Linked DNA regions of Homo sapiens: regions 1 and 3 are each linked to region 2. Evidence: promoter capture Hi-C in 16 types of primary human blood cells and fetal thymus (Javierre and others, 2016). All regions are on one chromosome and are shown on one strand. The core of a region is centred on a gene start or on the middle of the fragment in contact, and the rest is flanking DNA. Distances in the headings are between cores, read along the strand shown. Region 1 overlaps MMS22L (MMS22 like, DNA repair protein). Region 2 holds the start of MMS22L (MMS22 like, DNA repair protein). Region 3 overlaps MMS22L (MMS22 like, DNA repair protein).

What was found. The method cuts DNA at HindIII sites, captures the fragments that hold promoters and counts their contacts. A CHiCAGO score of 5 or more calls a contact.
Region 1: a contact is called between a fragment that was not itself captured here and the fragment with the promoter of MMS22L in region 2, in 1 of 17 cell types (erythroblasts). The highest score is 5.5, in erythroblasts.
Region 3: a contact is called between a fragment that was not itself captured here and the fragment with the promoter of MMS22L in region 2, in 1 of 17 cell types (erythroblasts). The highest score is 6.6, in erythroblasts.

Annotation. Positions count from the first base shown.
Region 1 is chr6:97,186,262-97,190,944 of GRCh38, forward strand. MMS22L (MMS22 like, DNA repair protein) reads right to left here. Exons shown (of 25, transcript NM_001350599.2): 15 at 236-429. Among named protein-coding and RNA genes, the nearest start is that of MMS22L, 95 kb to the right of the region's middle. The HindIII fragment of the contact is 804 bases long and covers 2,751-3,554 here.
Region 2 is chr6:97,279,989-97,284,473 of GRCh38, forward strand. It overlaps MMS22L (MMS22 like, DNA repair protein), which reads right to left and starts at 3,228. Exons shown (of 25, transcript NM_001350599.2): 1 at 3,108-3,228; 2 at 2,326-2,565; 3 at 1,249-1,374. The coding sequence starts at 2,489. RefSeq lists enhancers at 2,805-3,064, 3,445-3,504. The HindIII fragment of the contact is 13,882 bases long and covers 1-4,485 here.
Region 3 is chr6:97,167,614-97,172,400 of GRCh38, forward strand. MMS22L (MMS22 like, DNA repair protein) reads right to left here. Exons shown (of 25, transcript NM_001350599.2): 20 at 458-627. Among named protein-coding and RNA genes, the nearest start is that of MMS22L, 110 kb to the right of the region's middle. The HindIII fragment of the contact is 1,015 bases long and covers 1,645-2,659 here.

The sequences.
Region 1 (4,683 bases), core at 1,903-4,402, 94 kb before region 2:
CTTATGTATATTCAATATTTTCAGGATAGAAAATTATCTTATTTTTAGTAAATAATCATTTAATTTTTAGCAATAAATAAGCCAAAGGATCCCAATTTATTAATATGTAATTTGTTTCATCTTTCTGGCTGACAAAATGTTTGCTATACAAGAGTTTGTTACTAAGAAAATAAAGGAAAATACTGACAAAGAGTCTGCAAAAAGAGAAATTAGCAAATTAATAATTAATGCTGACCTGCAGCTGCATCCGCAAGTTGTGAGAAAGGCACTACCTGTGACATTCTCTGACTCTTCAAAAATGAAAAGAAATGTCTCCACAGTGCACTGGCAACTGCAGCAAGGTGGCGCTCTTTAGCCGATAATGAAGACTGTACAAATAGGTCCACATTGTCCCTTTGAAGTTCCTGACACAATTGTTGATGCATACTCCTAAAAAGAAATAAAAATACAGCTAACACCCTTAATAAATGCTTACAAAAATCTTCTTAAAGTACATTTTGAGCTTTTTCCATTTATATCATATGAGAAACATTTTATATAATTAAAACCTTTATGCCAAGACATTATGCATTTCTGGTTGTTTGATGGATGAATGATGGCATATTAAGCATCATAAAGTTAATGTTAACTACTAATGTCAACCATTAATTATATGCTTTTTAATATGTCAGATCCAAATGAGAAAGAGGCAGCTTCAGAATGAAGGTCTGCATTTTGCAACTCACACATGACAAGTGATTTTTACTTAAAATCTAGACATGAAAACAATTTTTAAAACAATTTTCTCCTGAGGGCTTTAGGACATGGATGTACCAAGAGGAAGGTAAGTACAACTGGCTTATGCGTGGTATTTTAAATTAAAATACTTTCCTTGTTTAGAAGACACAGGCCTTGTGTAGTAGACAAAACTATGCTAGATACAATCTTACTACTTTGGTCCCAAAAGATTCATAATCATTCTCACTTGGTAGGCAATAATATACAATAACAAGTTGCTCTTCATAAAATAATAAAACATAATTCGATACTGCCTCAAATTTTGATTAATCATTTACTCACCTTTGCTGATTAATTCAATCGAAAATTTAGATATCTCTAGACCTTAATAGAAACGTGCAGGAAATTGAGGTTACCAAAGAGAGGGAAATAAGAGATCTTCTTAGTGATGTGGAACAGAAGGCATTTATGTTGTGCACCCACTGATAATATGATTATTTAAAACTAAATGTACAACCATGCTATTATTCCTGTTTCTGTTTATATTACTGCCAGATCAACTGAGTAGACATAAATGCATGGATACATTTACATTTGCATTTTTTTTTCAATTATACAGAAAGCAGCAAAAAATAACCAATGGAAATTATGGAGAAGACTTCCTTTAATAGAGATAGCATTCCACTAAGAAAAATAATTAAGTACTTTAAAAAAGATGTTTGATGTTTTTAAACAGTTTAGGGGAAGTGGATAACATGAAAGAACTATACAAAACACAGAACTAGCATGTGTATCTAAAGCAATCCCACAAAAAGATCAAGCTGGTTATAAGATCACATCTTAGAATATTTCGCATAACTACCCAAGAGTGAGTAAAAATTCTAAGTATAAACTGTATAACATTAGGGCCTTGAGCCCCTTTACATTGGAATTCCTGGAAAATTATGGGATATTACTTAATACTACAGGAAATATTCAAAAAACAAGTGAACAAATGGCTGGGGAAAGAGTATACAGTAAACAATTCTCATAAAAGCTAACCAAATATCTGCTATGTCCTCTCTGTAAAAACTTCTTGAGATGCTTTCAACTTGAACTAGTGGCTAGAGAACCATTTCAGTTCCTTTATCTTAGAGTGAGATAAATAACAAACCACTAAAATCTATCTGGCAACTAACTCAACTGCCTATATCAACATAGCAAAGTTCACAGTACATTTCTACACAGTGGAATCCATGTAAAATAATACCACCATTTCTACTGCCCTTTATAGCTTTTTCAAAGTATATTGGTTTCAAAAGACAATAAATAACTTATGGTACTTGAGTAGGATGGATTTTGCTCACCATATCTAAAAAAGCCATTTTATTTACTAACTAAAACCTATTCCCTAGGAAGGAGTAACATTTCTGATCGACCTCTATATATGTGCTAGAAATTCCTTAAATTAATTAAATTCTTTTAAAATCGGAACAACTCTATGAGATAGGTATCATTAATCCTCTTTATAGATGACGAAGCTAACAGTAGGAAAGCTAAATATGCCCAAAGGTCACATGGCTAGAAAGGGCTGGCCCCATCATCTGAACTTAAATCTGACTCTGAAGCCCACTTTTCTTTTTACACACTAAGACATGCACCCTTATGCGCCTACACATACACAAGTTTTAAGTGAATTAAACATTGATAAATTATCTTCTCTTTCTACTTAGGTTAAAGAAATTTCATCCCAGCACTTTGGGAGGCCAGGGTGGGTGGATCACTCGAGGCCAGCAGTTCAAGACCAACCTGACCAACATGGTGAAATCCCCTCCCTAATAAAAATACAAAAAAATTAGCCGGGCATGATGGTACACGCTTGTAATCCCAGCAACTCAGGAGGCTGAGGTAGGAGAATTGCTTGAACCCAGGAGGTGGAGGTTGCAGTGAGCCGAGATTGTGCCACTGCACTCCAACTTGGGTGACAGAGCAAGACTTTCTCAAAATAATTTAAAAATAATAATAATAATAAATAAAATAAAGGAATTTCAGAAAGCTTAAGAAAAGGGGCTGGAAAAGCCACATGTAGCTGTGTCTTTTGAAGGGCCAGGAGCAACATCAGAATTCTAACATTAGGAAAGACTATAAGAAGAGATGCTAGAAAACATGTATTCAAGGCAATAATGAGAAAGGCCAACAAATGTGAACCACCTTTGACCTCTCCACAACAAAACGTTGAGGTACCAGGGAGTATAAGTATGAGCTAACGTGGGGATAGGACTCAAAGTTCTGAATCCATTAGGTTTAAAAAAAAAAAAAAAGCCGAGTGCAGTGGCTTATACCTCTAATCCCAGCATTTTGGGAGGCTGAGGTGGGTGGATTGCCTGAGCTCAGGATTTCAAGACCAGCCTGGGCAACATAGTGAAACCCCATCTCTATTAAAAATACAAAAAATTAGCCGGGCGTGGTGACATGTGCCTGTAGTCCTAGCTTCTTGGGAGGCTTAGGCTGGAGGATTGCTTGAGGCAGAGGTTGCAGTGAGCTGAGATTGCACCACTGCACTCCAGCCTGGGCAACAGCGAGACTCTGTCTCCAAAAAAAAAAAAAAAAAAAAAAAAAAAAGAATAATTAATTAAAAAAAAAAAACCATTGTGAGGTAAAAAATTTTAAAGCTATAGATTACATCCTCCAAGGTTGAGTTAAAACAGCTAAGACAAGTTTCAACTAAGGGTAAGACACTGACCCCAAACCACACTTGTGTTGGAAATGTGCACCCACTTTGTGTTTTTGGATTTGAAAAGCAGCTAATATCCCCGGGAATATGCAAAATGTTTCCTGCTCAATAGTTTGAAAGTTCAAGCTTTTTCAGTCTGGATAAGAAGAAATGATTACCTGCTATTTTAAACCAGAACCTAGTTGTTTAAGACCTTATAATAATAATTTATTTAAGCATAAAGAAATCAGTGAGTGACAAATACAGGAAATGCCAAGAGTGCACTGTAATAGAAGTCTGAAGGAAGAACCAAATTTTTGCACTATAGCCAAATAGCTAGAAATACTCCTTGCAGACACTGGTAATTTTTTAAAATCACATGTTTGAACCAGAAAACTAATTATACAGACTACTGAAAAATAAATTATATTAGATGTGACCACTGCATATCTGCTGAAGGTACATTTACAAAAATGCAAAGAAGAAGCTCTGTCACTAGAGGTAACAATGTAAAAGAAAACACAAAACATACATAAAATATTATAAAGAATGTAATATAGTTCTAGGTGATGGCTGTTTTATGAGGCATTATTTACCTTCTTCAACACAAACAGTAGAAATATGTAAGTAGATTTTTTGCATAAAAGGAAAAATATGTGATTTCTGGTCAGAAACTGAAAGACATAACACAAGGATGTAGGATCTCCCAACACTTGGCAATTGTTTTATTTGAGTAAAGACAGATTTCACATTAAGATCAGTTTGGAAATACAAGATCAGATAAGGAAATACACACATGTAACCAGCTCTCTTACATTATAAAAGATACAATACAGTATAGTAGAAAATAAATTTGCTGAATGTCAAGTTATTCAAATTGCAGCTCTCATGGTGGAAATAACAGCAACATCCAGCATTTACTGGTATTTACTATGAGACCAGCACCATGCAAAGTGTTTTATAAGCATCGTTTCTCACCCTATGAGGTAGGCATAATTATTATTCAAATCTTATATATGAGAAAATTGAGACAAAAGGAGTAATTATGCTGCGTAATAAACATGGTTATTAGCATAGCTATCCAGAGCAGTGTGGCTTTGGAAAAACAAGTAACCTCCCAACTCGCTGTTTTCTTTAGAGTCAAGAACAGGAACAATTGTTGCTATATCCACCTAACAGGGTTATTGTGAAGACCACAGGAAATAACATTCTGAAAAGTTTAGAAGCCTATCATTACACTATATAAACACCCACACTTTCACATACCAATTATC
Region 2 (4,485 bases), core at 1,978-4,477:
TCAAAGTCTTTAAAAATTAACCCATATTTATAACCTATGTCCTAGATAAAGACTCGCTCATTCTGTAATCTTCAGGATTACAGAGGATCACTCACTGAGCCTGTTCTATCAATAAAACGTATGACATGGCGTAGATACAGTTTAAGTCTCTTCAAAAGGTTTCATGGGATGATGGTGAGAGAATTCCTTCCACCTCTCCATTTTCCTTTAAATGTATCACATATAGATTTTTACTGTGTTTTGGAATAATTAGCTTTCAATAACTGACTCCTGTTTAAAATTACCTAAAATCTGAATATGAACTGTGTCTTAAATGATAATGAAGAACTTTAATTTTTATTAATTGAGATGAGTTTTTTTTTTGAGACAGAGTCTCGCTCTGTCACCCAGGCTGGAGTACAGTGGGCAATCTCAAATCACTGCAACCTCCGCCTCCTGGGTTCAAGCAGTTCTCCTGCCTCAGCCTCCTGAGTAGCTGGGATTACAGACGCATGCCATCACGCCTGGCTAATTTTTGTATTTTTAGTACAGAAGGGGCTTCACCATGTTGGTCAGGCTGGTCTCGAACTCCCGCCTCGGCCTCCCAAAGTGCTGGGATTACAAGCATGAGCCACCGCGCCTGGCCGTCCTCATCGTTTTTAAAAAGCACATATTTTTAAGAAATTCATACTGAAGTATTTATGGGTGAAACGACATGATGCCTAGGATTTCCTTACAAATACTTAGGCCAAAAGAAGAGGAGACAAGACAGATGAAGGAAATGTAATAAAAAGTTGTTGTTTACTGCAACTGAAGGAGGGTATATGGATGTTCATTATATTATTATTTTGTGTATGCTTAAAATTTTTCATTAAAAAAATTTTAAATGTTGTCCAAATAATTAATATTTCTATTACACAGTCTAAACAATTTATTTGTTAAGACCATACTCTAAAGATCACTGAAAGACTATGGCTATTGCACAACAAAAATATTTTAATTTTCTTCTAAAAATTATAGTTCAAAGCCTTAAATATTTGTCAATACATGTGTCAAATGCAAAGAATAAAGATTCTGAAAACGCAACTCATTAAAACCATTACTCATCAGGCATTGCTGCTTGATTATTGTTACTGGTAAGATAATCAAGTGAGCAACCAGCACAATTCCTCTGGTCTTTTGTAATATCAGTATTAGAAGCCACCCAACAACGTAATTTACAAAAGTGAACAACACCTACACTCACAGAAAGTTATAACGAAGAAATACCTGAATAAATGAAAGAGTTCTCTAGATGAATTCACTAATGCTGTTTCAGTAACCCACTGAATGCCAAATATTTCCAAGGTATCTTCTTCAAAATTAGTTGGTAAAGGGTCAAGATTCAAAATCAATCTGAAATGAAAATTGTTTCAATCTCATAAAAAGTATACTAAGTACCATAATACGACGGCTCTTTTCTTTACATTATTTGAATCCATATTATACATGACATGTATAAAAAGTCAGAAAATGCCTTGGTACTTTACACATTCAAGATTACAATAGCTAGACTGTATTAAAACGTCAATCTTCTATATTGATAAAATGTACGACTAAAGTGTAATGTAACTTAAGAGGAAAAATCAACAAGAATTCTAAAAAACATATTTCTGCCTGTCTTCACCAGTAGTCTTCAGTTGTAGAATTTCATCCTTTGAGGGGACATTTAATTTTAAAACTGCTAACAGTTATTCTGAGCCATGTCTGGAGAATAGTATCCAACTAATGAAGTTGAGTATTCTATTTAAGATTTCTAACAAGGTACAACTATAAGGTCAACAAAAATAGTTTCCTCACTGAAACTGCCTCAGCAGGTATTACCAAAATATTTCAAGAACAGTTTTACTGTAATATATATGTACCTGCCCAAGGCAAAATAAGTCTATACACTTCTATATGTGCAGGTAGGATTAGAAGGAACAGGGGCAATAAAAAATGTTTGTCTCTCTTAAATATTACTGGAAAGCTCTAGAATATTATCACACTCTTTAGAAGGAAATACTACTGCAAAAGGCTCAGATAGTTAGGAATTCATTTTAAGTAGAAGAAAAATTAGTGCCCAGCTCCCTACAGTAAGGGAACATCAGTTACCAAGGAAGTTTTCCCTAATACCCCAAATACTTTAGATATGCCCTTACCAAGAAGCCAGCAGAACTGATAATCATTTGTACCCTTATGATATACTAAGCTGATTTATAAAACACGACTTGGTGAACACCAAAGTTTAATGGGCTGAAATAACTAACATTCCTAAAAAACTGGTGAATAATCAGATGAGGGAAAATGTCTCTGAGTTTTACCTACCGCTTAAGGGCTCCGCTGCAGAGGTAGGATTCTCCAGAAAAATGTTTTCCTCCTCCTCTGTTGTCAACAGCACAAGAAAAGTAAGGAGGTTTGCACCATTCCGTCCCCAGCTCCAGCTCTAAGCTGTCAGTCAGGAACGTCGATGCAGCAGAACAGTTCTCCATTGTTTACTTCATGTTCTGAAACACTTGGGGTTCGTCGTATCATTAAGGGCTCCAAAGAGAAGGTGTGAAGAGATTCCTGTTGGGGGGGGGGGGGTGGGGCCGAGAGAGTGGGGATTACTTCAGAAAGTTCTCAAGACGTCCGCCAGCAGGAAGGAAAAACAAACGAACAAACCCAGAGGCCAAATTCCCAATTCCCCCTCGCCCTCCGTCCATCAAGGCTGTCAGAACTTAAGACAAAATGCACAACCAACTGGCTGTGGCAGGGACCTCGAAATCCGGCCACTAAGTCGGGCTCTGCAGCCCAGGACAAGGTGAAAAGCAAAGAAATGTCTGCAGGACATAGCGTCCCGGGCTTGCCTAGAACTGCGCCCTCCGCAACGTTTCTAAACCACTCTCCGCCCGTTTCCCAGCAGCAGGGTGGAGAACGCTCCCTCCCCGGCTCGGGGTGGAAATTAGGAAAGCAACCCCTAGGGCCAACCCCGACCCTCCAAGGAGGAGGCGAGACCCACCAGGCCCACGCCTGGCAGCACTCGGGCGGAGAAGGCGGGGTGCCGGTATCCCGCGTACCCGGCTGCAGCAAGGACCCGGGGCGTCGGTTACCCGCGGTGCCTGTCGTACCCGCTCACATTTCCAGCTCCCGAAACCTGCCTCCTGTGACCCAGACCACCAACAGGAATCTTTGGGGTCTAAACCGCAAACAGGCGAAATTCCCGCCACCGCGCGCCCGCGCTCCGGAAAGGCGGGGCCACGGCGCAGCCCTCCCCCGGCTACCAATCGCCTCGCGATATCTGCGCGGAAACAGTCGGAGCCCCACGAATTCTCGCGAGAGTCCGTCAGTCCGGGACGAGGTACTGAGAAACTTTTTTTTTTGTACCTTTAATTGGTGCGTTCGGCTGAAAGGCGGGGCCTGGTAAAAAAAAAAAAACAGAACTGCTGCTGAGGCGGAGGAGAGGACTTAAGGACTATGGGTTTATCCTCTGGCCGGACCAAAGAGAAGATATTTACTCCAGTGAGTGCGAAGTGAGTGCCTCGTTCACACCCACAGTCGCGCCGTCCCCTCTTCCCGCTCTGGGGCCAGCAACTCTTGTTAGAATGCAGATGCCTTTTGTCCATGGACTGTGAGGCAGGCAAGTGCAACAATTAATTTTCTCTGTAACAGATGGAACAAGTAGACAGAAAATTAGTATGGATATGGAAAACTTGGAAAGCACTAACCAACTTGACCTAATTGACGTTTATAGGTGACCAACCCAACAATAGCAGAATACACACTCCTGTCAAGTGCACATGAAACATTCACTAAGCGATACCATATTCCGAGCCATAAAACAAATGTCATCAACTTTAAAAAGATTTAAATCGTACAAAGTGTATAGTCTGATCATAATGGCATTAAACTAGAAATAAAGTAGATACTTGAAATACTCTAAATATTTGGAAATTAAGAATCATACTTCTAACTAACCTGTGAATCAGGAAAAATCACAGGAAAATTAGAAAATACGTTGAATTAAATTAAAATGAAAACACTAAAATTTGTAACAGTACCTGCTTACATTAAAAAGAAGAACTCAATTCAATAAACTTTTGTCTTAAGTAACTAGAAAAAACCCCCAGCATATTGAAACCAAAGCAAGCAAAATGAATGAAATGATAAATAGTAGAAATAAATGGGATGAAATAAATGGAAGGAAATACATGCAAAAGTTGTTTTTCTAAAAGAGCAATATAATTGATAACCCCCCTACCCAAACTGATAAAGAAAATAAACAAATTATCAGTATCAGGAATTAAAAAGGTTTCATCACTATGAAATTTAGTCATTAAAAGGACAAGGATATTAAAAGAACATTATGAACATTTTTATGCCAATAAGCATAGGTGAAATGGACAAATTCCTTAAAAGACGCAAACTGTCAAAAATCAACAAAAGAAGAAAATTTGAGTATCTCTGTATTTATCGTAGTACTCAGAATCTTTGGTTAAGCCTCCCTCC
Region 3 (4,787 bases), core at 902-3,401, 110 kb before region 2:
TTACATGGCTCCTCCCATATGACTCTCCAGCCACAACAGAACCATTCTATATTTTCTTAAAGCTCATGCCCTTGTACATGTTGCTCCCTCTGAAATGAAAAGCCCTCCAACTCCTACCCATTTTGCTCTTTTACCTCTGATGTCCTCTACAGTGTATTCTCTTATATCTCCTCACCCATAGTCTAATAGATGAGGTCTGAAAAAAAAAATACTGAGCACACTACCATAAGTGTCTGTGCTCATCTACCTCCTCTCTCAACTTTAAGCTCCTCTGCTTTTTCATTTTTGTTTCCAAAGCCAAACATAAAAGCAATTTAAAATATGTTCAATAAATGTGCCACACAAGCATTTGAGATTATAATGTACAGTTTTTAAATCTGCATTTAGTAAACTATGTTTTTAAGGCAAAGTTTCAATATTTTTTTTTTAAACTTTTAAGCAACCACAGATACTATACCTGGAGATACAAAGGAAGACTTTTCTGAATTGCTGACAACATAGGTGCAGGCAGTTCCTTCTCTTGCTGTAATACTGCATGTGGCAGCAGTAAACAATCTATGATCCGGAATAGTAATTTTTGGGCTTTAGAAGTGGCAAAGATTTGTGCCCATGATTTCACAAGAATTCCTAACAAAGAAGAGAAGTAACAGCATGTTGTTGTTATCCTCTGACCAGAACATTTTGTCACTTAATTTAAAAATTTGTATTGAAAGCACATGGGACCAAATTAAAGTAGGGAATAGGAAGAGACATATAGTAGAAGTAACAAATATTTATGTCAATTCATATATTTCACTAAAGAGACAAATTTTTCATAGAGTTTTGGGCCAAGGAAAACATACATTTTCCGAGCAACTGGCATTTAATATATACACTGGTTAAGTATCCCTAATCTGAAAATATAAAATCTGAAACGCTCCAAAATCCAAAAGTTTGTGAGTGCCAACATGATGATCAAAAGAAATGCTCATTAGACCATTTCAAATTTCACACTGTTGGATTAGGGGTGCTCAACTGGTTAAGTATACTACAAGTATTCCAAAATCCAAAAAAATCTGAACTCCAAAATACTTCTAGTCCCAAGAATTTTAGACAAGGGCTAGTCAACCTGTTTACACTCACACATACAGTGGAATATATTTATACATTATGTGACTACATTGGCTGAATGTTGAAATTATTCAGGATTTCCCTTTCTGCTTTCCCTCTGAGTTGCTAGGATGCCCAAATGCAAATTAACAATCCACCTTTTAAAGAATACTGTAGGATTATACATTATGGTTTTATATGCATACTAATTTTCCCTGGGCCTCACCATGAAACTCTATATTTATTTGTTGGTACCCCTATTTCTTCATATTTTAATCTTACATGTAAGTGGCCTCAATCCAGTTTGCAACAGAAGTATAATTAAATTTAATTGTTAATACATGGAAAGCAGGATTAGCTATAAGCTAATCACTTAACCTCCACCAACTTCAGTTAACCTCCATGAACTTCAGTTTTTACACCTTTCCATTATTTAATATAAACAAACAAAATTTTAATTCTGAATGAAGAGAAACAGATTTCTTTGCTACTTGAAATATATTATGGCTTCCTTGGTGCTAGAAGTCTGTTAATTGCCACATCTGATGATAATAAAGCTTAACAAATGAGCACCCTTTGTTTAATAAAGTAATTAAGAGCAGATATATAATTCCCATTAGGATATATTATTACTATTGAGGTCTCCTTACTGAAAAATGAATTTAAAAACAGATTAAATGCTTATCCAAAAAGCACAGTGGTACATCTACTGCATAAACTTTTATATTTTATTCCATCCTAGAAAGCAAAAACGATAAAATTCAAAGTCATTTCCATCAAATAAAGAGTTTAAAATTTAAGCTCTGAAGGAAAACCAAAATATGCTTATGGAAAAGTATACTGATGTTAAAGAAAAAAACTCAACAAATTATCACTTTTAAGAACAAACAGCAACATTCATCTTTTGTTGTAAAAGGAAGTACAATAATCAATCATAAAGAAACAATGTTCACTTAGCAAAGTTTTAAATAATGCTGGCTTGCTCCTCATTTCTTCAGTTGGTGGAGAATTTCAGTATGACAGCAATATTAGAAGAACTTATATTCTAAAAACATTAATATACCTGTAAGGGGAACTGCTATCATCACTGGCATATGAAATGATTCTTATTACTCTCAGGTGCAATACAGGTATGTTTCACTTTCTACAGTTTTAGTTACCCGTGCTATAGGGTACCACATGGTATAGTTTAGTTACCGGTGATATAGGGTACCACGTGGTATAGTTTAGTTGCCCGTGGTATAGGATACCAATAAGATATTTTGACGAGGGGGTGGGGAAGGCAGTCAGAGAGAGACACAAAGTTCACATAACTTTTATTAGAGTCTATTGTCACAACTGTTCTATTAATACTATTATTAGTTATTATGTTAAACTCTTATGTGCCTTATTTATGAATTAAACCTTATCATAAGTATGTATGTATAGGCAAAAACACAGCATACATAGGATTGGTACTATCTGCGGTTTCAGGCATCCACTAGTGGTGTTGAACATATCCCTCATGAATAAGGGGAAACTACTGTATTTCATTTTCTGCAACGGTTGAAACACTTTGTTGAAGACTGTAAGCTTTAGGAGTTCATATAAGGTGGAGATATTTGTTTTACTCCTTGCTATCAGACACCTACTTTTTAGGTTTCAGCAATGAATATTTGTGTGTGTGTTATTAAAAATGCAAAATGGAAATATAAAAAGATTTTTAAAGTAAAAAACTGGGAAAGGTTTAAATACATACAGTACCTTTGTAAAAACCTAAGTTTTTTTTTTTCTTTTTCTGGCTATAAATATATTATTTATTAACAAATAAAACTGAAAATACAAAAAAATTTAATACAATCTCTCCATTCAATGATAACCACTATACAAGCTCTTGAGTATTTACTCATTTTCTATCCTCTGTATTTTCTATCCTATGTATTTTGCCTACTTTCTACCCTACGTAAAAATTGGGATCACTACAATATACATTTTTAAATCTTTATAGTTAGAAAGTAATTTTGTTCATTTAAGAACATTAAAAGCTGCGTACAGCGGCTCACACCTGTAATCCCAGCACTTTGGGAGGCTGAGGCAGGCAGGCTGCTTGAGCCCAGGAGTTCAAGACCAGCTTTGGTAACATAGTGAGATCCTGTCTGTAGTAAAAATACAAAAATTAACCAGGCATGGTGGTGCACATCTGCAGTCCCAGCTACTCAGGAGACTGAGGCACGAGAATTGTTTAAACCCAGAGGCAGAGGTTGCGGTGAGCTGAGATCACGTCACTGCACTTCAGCATAGGTGACAGAGGGAGACTCTGTCTCAAAAACAACAACAACAAAGAAAAACAAAAAGAACATTAAAAAATATATACTATTGCTAGATTAATAAAGTCATTAAATTCCATAAATATTTATATAGTATACACTATCTCCTACTTTGGAGCTCTTTAACTAATGTATCCCTAACTCTCAATCCAGCACCTGATACATAATAATTGTTCTTTTTTGTTCAAAATACATGACAATGGGAATAAAAAATTCAAGAGATGGCTACTACAAGTTTGAAATTTGGTGGGGGCATGTCAAGTACACAAGTAATTTTAACAAATGGCAAACTATAAATAATATCATATCACAAGAAAAGGATAGATGAAGTGTAATGAGAGAGATGATCAAGTCTACTTGGCAATGTGGGAAAAGTGGGGAAATTTGCACTTGGCACCAAAGGGTCATGACTTGAATTTCAATTACAAAGCAAAATGGGGAAGAATGGCCAAAGAGACAGGGATGATTGAAAGCTTTATACATGGAAACAGAAAACTATCAGATATGAAGAATGAGAAAAACAAAACAAAACAAAATCTACAGAGGAGAGAAGTTGATGGATCCACCATGCCTTTTCAGAAATAACTGAGCTACAATTAAGATCACAGATGCCTTCTCCTTAATATGAAAGGTGATTTCATCAACAGTTCTGTGCCTTTCACTAGCAGTCTTGCAACCTTGTAAGTGAACAGCAGAGGTGTCCCCAGTTAGGAACTGTCAAGGTAAATAGAGTACAGTGTTTCAGTGGTTAACTCCTTCCCTCAAATGGTTATGCTATCCCAACCCCAACACATTTTAAAACACCTTGGAGCTCTCCAAAGTTTATACTTTGCTCTTTCTCTGTTTTATTCTAATCCTTTAACATGAAGAAATCATTAAGTTACCTATCCTAATTCCTAACAAATAAATGGGCAACACTGTAGCAATATACTCTTCCTAGTCTTTGAAACCTAGACAAAAGGAAAGAATACAGATCTGCGCATGGAGACAAAAATCAACAAGGCAGCAAAGCAAAGAAAGTCTTCAATTTTTCCTAAGTAGAATTTTGTCCCATGTCTATATCAGACATTTATCTTGGCAAAAATCTAAATCTGGAAACAGAAAACTTTTGTAGACACTAATAAATTATAAGCATGAATGCCAATATATTTATTAATGTGTATTTTACTATTAAACTTATAAATTCTCACTTACATTTTTCTCTAAAATTAAGATGCCTGAATTGCTATAGCTTTTCCTGTAATTTACATCTTCTATATTTACACATTTTCACATTCGCCTTTATCTTTTACAACAAAGATAAAAGGTTTCAGACAACCCGAATCAGGCTTACTCATACATTCATAAGATTAAAGGGAACAGATAAAAGGTTTTGACCACAGAGAAATAAAG